Regions from separate parts of the Homo sapiens genome. Here regions 1 and 3 are each linked to region 2. The links are contacts of gene promoters, found by promoter capture Hi-C in human tissues and cell types (Jung and others, 2019). All regions are on one chromosome and are shown on one strand. The core of a region is centred on a gene start or on the middle of the fragment in contact, and the rest is flanking DNA. Distances in the headings are between cores, read along the strand shown.

Region 1 (3,617 bases), core at 1,054-3,553, 610 kb before region 2:
CCCACTCGGGTGCTAAATGTCAAAATTTAGCAAGTTAATATTTAGTGTGTGCTGCCTGAGAGGTTATTATAGAGGTTAAGGAGTGAGTAGAAGTCAGACTTCCTGAGTTCAAAGCCTGATTCCACTTTTCTTCTAATGTGACTTTGGGCAAGTCACTTAACCCCCCACCAAACTTAAGTTTTCTCATCTGTAAAAAGTGGGGATTATACCTCACTGGATTATTATAAAAATTGCATAAGGTATTCCATAGAAGGCATTTAGGACTGTGCAGGCTCAATAAATGATAGCTATTATTTTAAGTTGTTAATACGATATCCCTGTGCGTATATTAAAACCCTACATTAATACAAGCCTACTGCAGGATAGGCAGTGTTAACCACTTCACATGGATCAGCCTAAGAGGAAGGTACTGTTATCACTCCCAGTTTATGGAGGAGGAAATAGGCTCAGAAGTTTAAGTGACTCATCGAGAATCAGAGCTATTAAGTGGCAGGCCATAACCTTGAACCCAGGACTGGATACTCTGGACTGCTGCGCTGGCCCCCACGTAGGAATCGCTTAAACATATGTTGTTGATTCGGAAAGTGGTATATCTTCACTGCTCTTTCTTAGATTCTAGGTCCATGCCATCCTGTCATGGACAGTTATACAGGTGGACCAGTGAGGCACACCTGGGCAGTGCTCTGTTCACATCTGTCCTGCACCTGCTCTCATCCTGCCTTCACAGGTATGCAGTGAGAAGACTGGAAAGCATTATTAACAGTGTGGTCTTTTGGTGGTAGGATTGGGGATTGTTTTTTATTTGTTTGTTTGTTTGTTTTGAGACGGAGTCTCGCTCTGTTGCCCAGGCTGGAGTGCGGTGGCGCGATCTTGGCTCACTGCAATCTTCACCTCCTGGGTTCAAGCGATTCTCCTGCATCAGTCTCCTGAGTAGCTGGGACTACAGGTGCACGCCACCATGTCCAGCTAATTTTTGTATTTTTAGTAGACATGGGGTTTCACTGTGTTAGCCAGGATGGTCTGGATCTCCTGACCTCATGATCCGCCCACCTCGGCCTCGCAAAGTGCTGGGATTACAGGTGTGAGCCACAGCGCTCGGCCATGGATTGCAGATTGTTTAAAGTTTTTTTGTAATTTATCATATTTTCTTAAATGTTGACAGTGTACATACATTATTATTATAGTAGTCCTCCCTTATTCAAGGGGGATATGTTCCAAGACCACCAGTAGATGCCAGTGAAACAGTGGATAATACCCAAACTGATTACTGTCAATCAGACTGTTTCTGTTCATATCTTCCACTCACAAATTTAATGCTTTTTCCATCTTAACTAAGCACTTATCATGCTCTGTGGCAACAGCTTTTTATAGTTTGAGGTGAAGCACCAAAACTAGCACCAATTTTTTTCCCCTTTGAAATTTGATGGATAGAAGTTTTATTCTTACTGTAGATCTTAGCAACCTCAGAATACAGTTTTTTTCTTGCCTTATTAAGTCAAGAACTTTCACCTTTTCACATAAAGGAGGCACTTTACAGCTTGTCTTTGGCATGTCCAAAGTGCTGGCATCACTACTCTTGTGCTTTGGGGCCATTATTAAGTAAAGTAAGAGTTACTTGAACACAAGCACTGAGACAACGTGATGGTGGATCTGACAATCGAGATGGCTACTAAGTGACTAATGGTGGGGTAGCAAATACAGCTTGAATGTGCTGGACAAGGATGATTCACATCCCAGGTAGGGTGGAGTCAGACGATAGGAGATTTCATCACATGCCTCAGAATGGTGCATAATTTAAAGCTGATGAATTATTTATTTCTGGAATTTTCCATTTAATATTTTCAAACCACAATTGACCATGGGTAACTGAAACTGGAAAATAAAGCTACAGACAAGGGTGGACTACTGTAAAACAGGAAGCTTAATATTTTTCTAATCACTCATAATTCCAGAACACTAATACATTTTTTAATAACAGCTTTATTAAAGCTAGGGCAGTAGATGGTTCTTACTAAAATGGTATAACACTGAGGGGTGGTAAATGAATAGTGGCTGCTTTGGTTATTTTTTGAGACAGGGTCTCACTTTGTCACCCAGGCTGAAGAACAGTGGCACGAACATAGCTTACTGCAGCCTTGACCTCTTGGGCTCAAGTGATCCTCCTGCCCCAGCCCCTAAGGTAGCTGGGACTACAGGCACATGCCACCATGCCTGGTTAATTTTTATATTTTTTGTAGAGACGGACTTTCACCATGTTTCCCAGGCTGGTCATGAGCTCAAGCTATCGCCTAACCTCGGCCTCCCAAAGTGCTGGGATTACAGGAGTGACCCACCACACCCAGCCCTAGGGGCTGCTTTTATAGATACTAAAAGACCTTGTTAAGCTGGATTGGTGATTGTGCTTTGATCATTATTGATTTGTTTCTGTTATTTTGAATCTCTTAATTTCTTGAAGAATGTTGTCAATAATTCTATTAAATATCAAATTTTTAGTATAGATTGTCCACCAAAAAAAAGTTGAAAATTGCTGCTGTGAGGATTACAGAATAAAGTAAGGAAAAATACTGCATGGAAAAGGACCAGTAGAGTGTAAAATCATTTATTCAATCCTTTACTCATTAGTATATATAAATGGTATAAGTTCCTTAGGGAAAAAAATGGGCAAAATGAAACCCAAGTCTGCTAATAAAAAATAATTGCTATGGAAATTAAATTGTGCCCTTGCTATTAACAACTAAAAAGTAGTTAAATGTGTTAAACAACTCACATTGGACAACAGGCACAGTACAATAATCCCTGAAGGAAGAAAAACACGGTGAGTCCTACAATTGCCCCCATTTAGTACTGGGGTCAGTTTTTAGGCCATATTGTAGGAAATCCAAATGAATTCTAGATTTCTGAGTTGAGAAGATAAAAATAAGAATTCAGAGAGGCCAAAGAGGCTAGAATTTATAGGGAGAACCCTAAAGGAAGGAGCTGCACCAAAAATGTTCAGAAACCTGAAGAGAGGTCTCCTTAAGTTTTTGGCTGAGCAGTAATCTGCACATGCATGAGAAGAAACTAAGACTGGGGAAATACCCATCAAAAGGCCATAGGCTGAACAATTTCTGGGGCTTAAACAGAACTGGGAATGTTGCATGTTACCATAAACCAGAATGCAGAGACATGGTATTAGATAGGAATTGGGTAGAGTTCACAGAAATGTCATGCCTTAGTAGTGGGGATAAATTATTCCCAGAATAAAAGCTGCTCTGGACTTGCCATAACAAAGTTTAAAAGCTTGAAAGGGTCAGATGGATCTACAAGTTACTGAAAAGTGTGCCACATCCTTTGCAGGAATATATCAAAACCCAGCACCCAGCAATGTAAAATTCAAAATGTCCAATATCTAATACAAAATTACCAGACATGAAAAGGAAAATATGACCCATATCTGAGAGGAAAATCAACCAATAGGAACAGACTTAAAAATGACAGATTATAGAATTAGTACAAAGAAACCTTAAAGCAGCTACTATGAATCTTACAAATATTCCTAAGGATGTAAAGGAAACTGAACATGATGAGGCTAGAAATAGAAGACATAGAAAAAGAGCCCAAATGTAACCTCTAGAAAG
Region 2 (3,559 bases), core at 1-2,500:
GGAAAGTGGAGAGCTACGTGGTGGCCGTCTGCCAACTCCAGCATCTCTGGAAAATCTCCACGCTGAATGTGATTTTTGAAAACAGCTTATGTAATTAAAGGTTGAATGGCACATCATAATTCCAGCATTCGGTTGTGCAGCTGTGTGTATACATGCGCGTGGGGGAGTAAAATACTTTACCATGTTGCACTCTGAGAGGAAAATGGAGACTATGAACTAGTTTATTAATCTTTGGATTTCCTCCCTGTTTCCCCACCTGAGCCCCAAATCCATAGTGACTGGAAATCAGTGGTTTTGGGCTTACTCAGGAGGCTGCTTGCGGCAGTTGCTGGCCAGAACACCCGACGGGGTTGTTTCTGAGCTTTGCCTCTGTGACTGGGGCTATTGCACAAGCTCCCCTGAGGACACACTTGCTGCTTTGGGCCTCGGTGGCCCGGCCTCTCCCTGGCGCTCCCGGGCCCGGGAGCGCTCACCTGTCGGTTCCCTGGACTCTGCGGGCAGGCGCTGGCTGATTCCCGGCTGCGCGGACACCTGTGCGCTCCTGCATTTAGGGCTCCTTTGCTCTGGTTTCATCACGCAGGATGTCACATTTTGTGCATATTATTCTCTAGCTCTACTACTTTTCATTGTAAACAAACAATCATTTTCTAACCTGCCGTCGTGGAAGGCAGAGTGCAGACCGACCCTTCCCGGCAGGTGGGGGCTGAGAGCCAAGAGCGCTGGAACCGCTAGTGTGGCCTGACAGCTTCCTCCAGCTCCTTGGTTTATTTGCAAACTGGACTTCCAGCACCAGGCCCCCTGCGACCCCCTCCTGCCTTAGTCCCGTGGGATCGGGTAGTTCAAGATTTTGAATTCATGGTTTGGCACACACCGGCAAGTCTGAAAACCTGCGGGTCAGAGTGGGGCGGAGGCGTGGGCCCCCTACCCTCTGCCCCCTGCCCCCTCGGAAGCGCAGCCCTCTTCCAGGGGTTGGGACGAGCTAGCGCGGGGACCCGGGGCACCGGCAAGGACCCACCCGCTACTGGGACCTGGCGCCGGCGGCGCCTCTCGCGGGGTGGCACCGCCCACTTCCGCCTTCCGCGGGCGCGCGCTGCGCAGTCTTCGTCACAGCGCGGAGGCCTTTTGTCCTCCCGCCCTCCCCGTAGTGGCCGTAACCCGAGTGACATGTTTCCTTGGGGGCGTGGAGGGGCGGGGTCGGGGCCGGAGTGGGCCGTCAGCACTTAAAGGGCCCGCGGCTCGGGCGTAGGAGGCGGTGCCTCTGCAGCAAGCGTGGGGCGCGGGAACCCGAGCAGGTTCGGGAGACGGAATGAAGGGCCGGGTGGGCTCGCGAGGGGCCGGGGAGTCCGCGGGGAGCGAGGGAGTTTCCGAGGGGCGGGTCGTGTTCCTGGCAGCGTCCCTCCAGGGCAGGCCCGCCCCCTTTGTCCCAGTTCCCCGCTGCCCGGGCTGGGGCGGCCGGGGTTCATTCATTGCCGGCCTGAGGACTCCTAGCTCGGCCCCGCTCCGCGCTACAGCCCAAAGCCCAGCCTGAGACCCAGCCGCCCTCGTATGCCCACGGCCTAGCTCCCCTTCCCTCCAACAGACAGACTGGGAAAACCGAGTGGGCGACGGCTGAGCAAGGTCACTCCGCTGTCGGGGGCGCAGCCGGCCTCAGACCAGCTTTCGTGCTTCCCAGGGCCTCTCTGCGACCACTTTCGGGGTCCGCGCCAGGCGCGGGGCGGGGGCGGGGGCGGCTTCGGCGCGGCGGGCAGAGTCCAGCGGGCAGCGGTGGGGGAAGGGCGAGCCGCCTGGGGAGAGGGCCGGGCTGCGAGCCTGGCGATCCAGATTCCAGCCCGCTGTCGCCAGCTGTGGGACCGAAGGGCAACTGTTTCACCTCTCTGGCCCTAGTATCTGTATCTGTAAAGTGCCAGTGATAACACCTGTCTCACCGAGATGCTGGGGGAATTCAGGAAAATCATGCAAAAGTGCCTGGTACGGAGCCTGGCACGCAGAGGGCTCTTGGTCAAGTGGGTTGGAGCTGCGTGAGCCCAGAAGGGGATAGAGGCAGCGTGGAGGAAGGCGGCAGCGGGCCCGGTCGCTGGGAATGAAAGGCCTCAGTGTCTGGGGCTTCCTCCCCGTACTACCCGCAGAGTTTGTTCAGGGTGGAGGTGCGCACCTGGCCAAGTCCACGTCTACACGGCCCACCCAGAGTAGCCTAAGTTGGGCGGGATTCCTAACTCTGAGCCAGGAGTGACCGGGCTGGCCCTGGCATGGGCAGAGGCTGAGCGGGGGTTGGGGTGGGGCCCCCTCCAGGACCAACCACGGTGTGGTTGCCCCTGAGCTGGCCTCAGCCTGCCTGGCAAAGGACCTCACCCTTGAGGCCATGTGATCTATTTCCTGCTTCCTCCCAGCTGACCCTTGAGGGAAAGGGGGTGGGGGCCGCCTAGAGCAGGAGGTATTAGTCACTGCGCCCAGGAGCCAGTTTACACCTAGCGAAGGCGGAGGCATTGGACAAGCCTGGGTCTGAGCAGACAGAACCCCTTCCTGCGACCCTGGAGTCCCAATCGTGCTGCCATTTTCCTTCTGCCCAGGACTCTCCAGTCCTCAGTCACCTTGGACAAAGAAGTGTGGATCCTCAGATTCCATCTTTTCCAACTCCAAGGCAAGTGGAACTAGAAAATAAGGTGCCTGTGTGTCAGGTCTCCCCAGCTCTGCTGTGGCGGGCCCTTAAGATCACCTCACTGAACCCTCACGCTGCCTCATGAAGTTTATACAATTATTAGCTCTGTTTTACAGAGATAGAAACTGAGGCCAAGAGGCTAATTAATTTCCAAAGCCTAAGGCCAGAAAGTGATGGTACCCAGACTTGCCCCAGGGCTGACTTCTGAGCCAGTCTGGTACCTAGGGCACACTGCCGCCTCCTTCCAAAGCGAGCTTAGGGGGCAGGATTCCAGTGGGAAGGAAGCTCTGAGCAGGCAGCCTCAGCCACCTCTGAGACTCTGTATCCTGGGCCAGGTGCCATGGCAGAGAAGGTGCTGGTAACAGGTGGGGCTGGCTACATTGGCAGCCACACGGTGCTGGAGCTGCTGGAGGCTGGCTACTTGCCTGTGGTCATCGATAACTTCCATAATGCCTTCCGTGGTGAGCGGGGCAGTGGGGCTGGGGCTACTTGAGGGGATGGCAGAAGCAAAACCCTGGGTTCCACCTCCACCACCGGGCGGGGAATGTGTGTCTGGCTAGTCCCTGGGAACACAGCACCCCATGTCGTGATGATGTGGCCTACATGTACCCTACCAGGAGGGGGCTCCCTGCCTGAGAGCCTGCGGCGGGTCCAGGAGCTGACAGGCCGCTCTGTGGAGTTTGAGGAGATGGACATTTTGGACCAGGGAGCCCTACAGCGTCTCTTCAAAAAGGTGGGTGCAGGCTGGGCACGGTGGCTCACGCCTGTAATTCCAGCACTTTGGAAGGCCGAGGTGAGGAGATCACTTGAGCCCAGGTGTTCAAGACCAGCCTGCTCAACACAGTGAAACCCCATCTCTACAGAAAAATACAAAAATTAGCTGGGCATGGTAGCCCATACCTG
Region 3 (3,717 bases), core at 919-3,418, 840 kb before region 2:
ACGCTATTTCGTCTTTGATGTAATCTAGAATGCTCTACTTCCAGATATCTTTTTTTTTTTTTTTTGAGACCGAGTCTCGCTCTGTCGCCCAGGCTGAAGTGCAGTGGCGCGATCTCGGCTCACTACAACCTCTGCCTCCCGGGTTCAAGCGATTCTCCTGCTTCAGCCTCCCTGGCAGCTGGGACTACAGGTGCGCACCACCACGCGCGGCTAATTATTGTATTTTTAGTAGAGATGGGGTTTTGCCATGTTGGCCAGTCTGGTCTCAAACTCCCAACCTTCACTGATCCTCCCGCCTCGGCCTCCCAAACTGCTGGGATTACAGGCATGAGCCACCACGCTGACCTACTCCTGGATATCTACTGGGCAAACTTAAAGTCCCCACTGCCCCCCCGCAGATGGGGTCTTGCTCTGTCTGCCCAGGTTGGAGTGCAGTGGCAGGATCTCGGCTCACTGCAACCTCCACCTCTCAGTTTCAAGGAATTCTCCTGCCTCAGCCTCCCAAATTGGGAGCTGGGATTACAGACGCCCGCCACCAAGTCCGGCTACTTTTTTTATCTTTAGTGGAGATGGGGTTTCACCATGTTAGCCAGGCTGGTCTGGGACTCCTGACCTCGTGATCCACCTGCCTTGGCCTCCTAAAGTGCTGGGATTATAGGCGTGAGCCACCGTGCCCGGCCTGGGCAAAGTTTTTACTTTAAAGTTTTTACTCGATGGTCACTCACTGAAGCCTAACCTGACTGCCTTGTTGGAAGTTGCTCGGATATCCTCTCTACATCCTGATGCCCGTTACTCTTTTTTTTTTTTTCATAGCTTTTATCACCTAATATGCATTTAACCTGTTTTTTTTTTTTTTTTTTTTTTTTGAGGCAAGGCCTGGCTCTGTCACCCAGGCTGGAGTGCAGTCACGTGATCTTGGCTCACTGCAGCCTCCGCCTCCTGGCTTTAAGCCATCCTCCCACCTCAACCTCTGGAGTAGCTGGGACTACAGGCCCGCACTACCATTCCCAGCTAATTTTTGTATTTTTTGTAGAGATGGGGTTTTGCCATGTTGCCCAGGCTGGTCTCGAACTCATGAGCTCAAGGGATACCTGCCTTGGCCTCCCAAAGTGCTGGGATTACAGGTGTGAGCCACTGCGCCCGGCCGTTTAACCTGTTTTTAATGTTTGTTTATTGTCTGTTCCCCACACTAGAATGTAAGTGCCCTAAAGTCAGGGCTTACTGTTTTGTTCATTCATGTGTCACTAGAAAAGTGACACATGGCATGGGTTCAATAAACATTTGTTCAGTGAATGAAGGCTTTGTCAGACGGCCAAAGACAGGGAAGTGACAGGCCTCCACAGAACAAGCCACTTGACCAGATGGGAACTATGAAATCACAACACCCCACATCTCCCTGACTATTCTCTATGGTTCTGATTAGTCATTCTGTTTTGGGCTTCCTTCACTGTCTCTGTCTGTTTGCTGTCAATCCTATAAATGTTGTTTTTTCTGGTAGTTCTGTCATTGACTACTTTTTCCCTCAACAAAGGTGCCCTCTCTGACCTCTCGGTTTTGATTACCTTTCATATTTCAAACCTGTGTATCTCAGGCACAGGCCTGCTCCAGACCTATATTTTCAACTTCCTGCTCACCTATTCACTTGGATGTCCCATAGGCACCTCACACTCAACATACCCTAAACTGAATTCATCTTCATCCACTTGCCTTCAACCTTCTGGTTTCCCATTCTCAATGAATGAGCCCACCTTTCTTTCTATCATGATTCTTCTCTCTTCCTCACACTCTACAACCAACTCTTGCCTTTTCACCTCTCTTAATAGCTTATGCCTCCCTCTCCTCATCCGTTACTTCTAAGTTGCAGCCACAATAAACTACAGATGCTTGTCTGATTATGAACAGATTTAGATTTCGAATGGCAATTTATTTGTCTATATATTGGTAAGCCTAAAATGACTAAGAGATGATTCAAATGGCACCTCTTCATCAAGCCTTTTCTGAACAACCTTCCAAAAAGGACACCCTCAATCCCCTCACTCTGTCTTACCTTTTTCTTTCTTTTCTTTTGGAGAGAGGGTCACTCTGTAACCCAAGCTGGAGTGCAGTGATGCAATCACAGCTCATTGCAGCCTCCTTAATTTCCCCAGCTCAAGCAATCTTCCTGCTTCAGCACCCTGAGTAGCTGGGACTACAGGTGTGTGCCACCACACCCAGCTAATTTTTAAATTATTTTTTAGAGACGGGGGCTTTATTGTATTGCCCAGGCTGGTCATAAACTCCTGGGCTCAAGTGAGCCTTCCACCTCAGCCTCCGAAAGTGCTGGGGTTATAGTCGTGAGCCACCATGCCTGGCCTATTTTTCTTTTCTTTCTTTCTTTTTTTTTTTTTTTTGGAGACAGGATCTCACTGCGTCACCCAGGCTGGAGTGCATTGGTGTGATCTTGGCTCATTGGTGTGATCTTGGCTCACTGCAGCCTCCACTTTCTGGGCTCAAGTGATGCTGCCACCTTAGCCTTCTGAATAGCTGGGACTACAGGCTCACACCACCACGCCTAGTTAATTTTTGTATTTTTTTCTTTTCGAGATGAAGCTTCACCGTGTTGCCCAGGCTGGTCTCAAAATCCTGAGCTCAAGCAATCTACCTGCCTCATCCTCCCAAAATGCTGGGATTACAAGCACGCACCACTATGCCCAGTCCTATTTTTTATTTATTTATTTATTTATTTTTTTTGAGACAGAGTCTTGCCATCTCCCAGGCTGGAGTGCAGTGGCCCGATCTCGGCTCACTGCAACCTCCGCCTCCCAGGTTCAAGTGATTCTCCTACCTCAGCCTCTTGAATAGCTGGGACTACAGGCATGCACCACCACGCCTGGCTAATTTTTTGTATTTTTAGTAGAGACAGGGTATCACCGTGTTAGCCAGGTTGGTCTTGATCTCCTGACCTCGTGATCTACCCGCCTCAGGCTCTCAAAAAGTGCTGGGATTACAGGCATGAGCCACCGTGCCCAGCCCCTTATTTTTTTTTAAATAACACTTAACATTTCCTGGGATTATTATCTATTTTGTTTATATGTTTACTATCTTCTTCCTTTTTTTTTTTTAAATAAAAAAGCTCTATGTGGGTGTGGATTTGCCCATCCTTGGAGCTCAATAAACATTTGTCGAAATGAGTATATGAATGAGAGTCTAAGGCTGGGCATCATGGTTCATGCCTGTAATCCCAGGACTTTGGGAGGCCAAGGCGGGAGGATTGCTCCAGGCCAAGGGTTTGAGACCAGCCTGGACAACATAGTGAGATACCCCCAACCCCACTGCCCCACCTCTATTTTTAAAAAAGAGTCTAAGACTCAATTTCCAAAAGTATTTCTATCAATGAGTGTCTGTTGGTTAAAATGTTGCAACCACTGATTCTATCAGTAAGAGTCTATACCGGAAAATCTGCTGAGGCCGATGAGCTGCCTACCTGATGATCCCTGCAGATGCAGTGGATAACTACTTGGCAGTGAAAGTTTTTGCAGACACCACCTGTTGCTCACTTTGATGCTGGGCAGATCAAAATAGGTGTTGGCTGGGCACGGTGGCTCACGCCTGTAATCCCAGCACTTTGGGAGGCTGGGGCGGGTGGATCATTTGAGGTCAGGAGTTCAAGACCAGCCTGGCCAACATGGTGAAACCCCGTCTGTACTAAAAAATACAAAAATTAGTCGGGCAGTGGTG

Evidence for each region. Contacts are between HindIII fragments. The study calls those that stand out against the background at their distance.
Region 1: a fragment that was not itself captured here is called in contact with the fragment with the promoter of GALE in region 2 in 1 of the 25 tissues and cell types used here (liver).
Region 3: a contact is called between a fragment that was not itself captured here and the fragment with the promoter of GALE in region 2, in 1 of the 25 tissues and cell types used here (aorta).

Annotation. Positions count from the first base shown.
Region 1 is chr1:24,407,813-24,411,429 of GRCh38, reverse strand. The region is part of intron 1 of STPG1 (sperm tail PG-rich repeat containing 1); the gene reads left to right. Among named protein-coding and RNA genes, the nearest start is that of STPG1, 4.2 kb to the left of the region's middle. The HindIII fragment of the contact is 5,786 bases long and covers 1-3,617 here.
Region 2 is chr1:23,798,445-23,802,003 of GRCh38, reverse strand. GALE (UDP-galactose-4-epimerase) reads left to right here and starts at 1,250. Exons shown (of 12, transcript NM_001008216.2): 1 at 1,250-1,292; 2 at 2,568-2,638; 3 at 2,992-3,117; 4 at 3,274-3,389. The coding sequence starts at 2,997. HMGCL (3-hydroxy-3-methylglutaryl-CoA lyase) reads left to right here. Exons shown (of 9, transcript NM_000191.3): 9 at 1-119. RefSeq lists silencers at 840-1,049, 1,210-1,689, 1,740-1,839. The HindIII fragment of the contact is 13,480 bases long and covers 1-3,559 here.
Region 3 is chr1:24,637,669-24,641,385 of GRCh38, reverse strand. No RefSeq gene overlaps it. Among named protein-coding and RNA genes, the nearest start is that of SRRM1, 3.8 kb to the left of the region's middle. The HindIII fragment of the contact is 5,786 bases long and covers 1-3,717 here.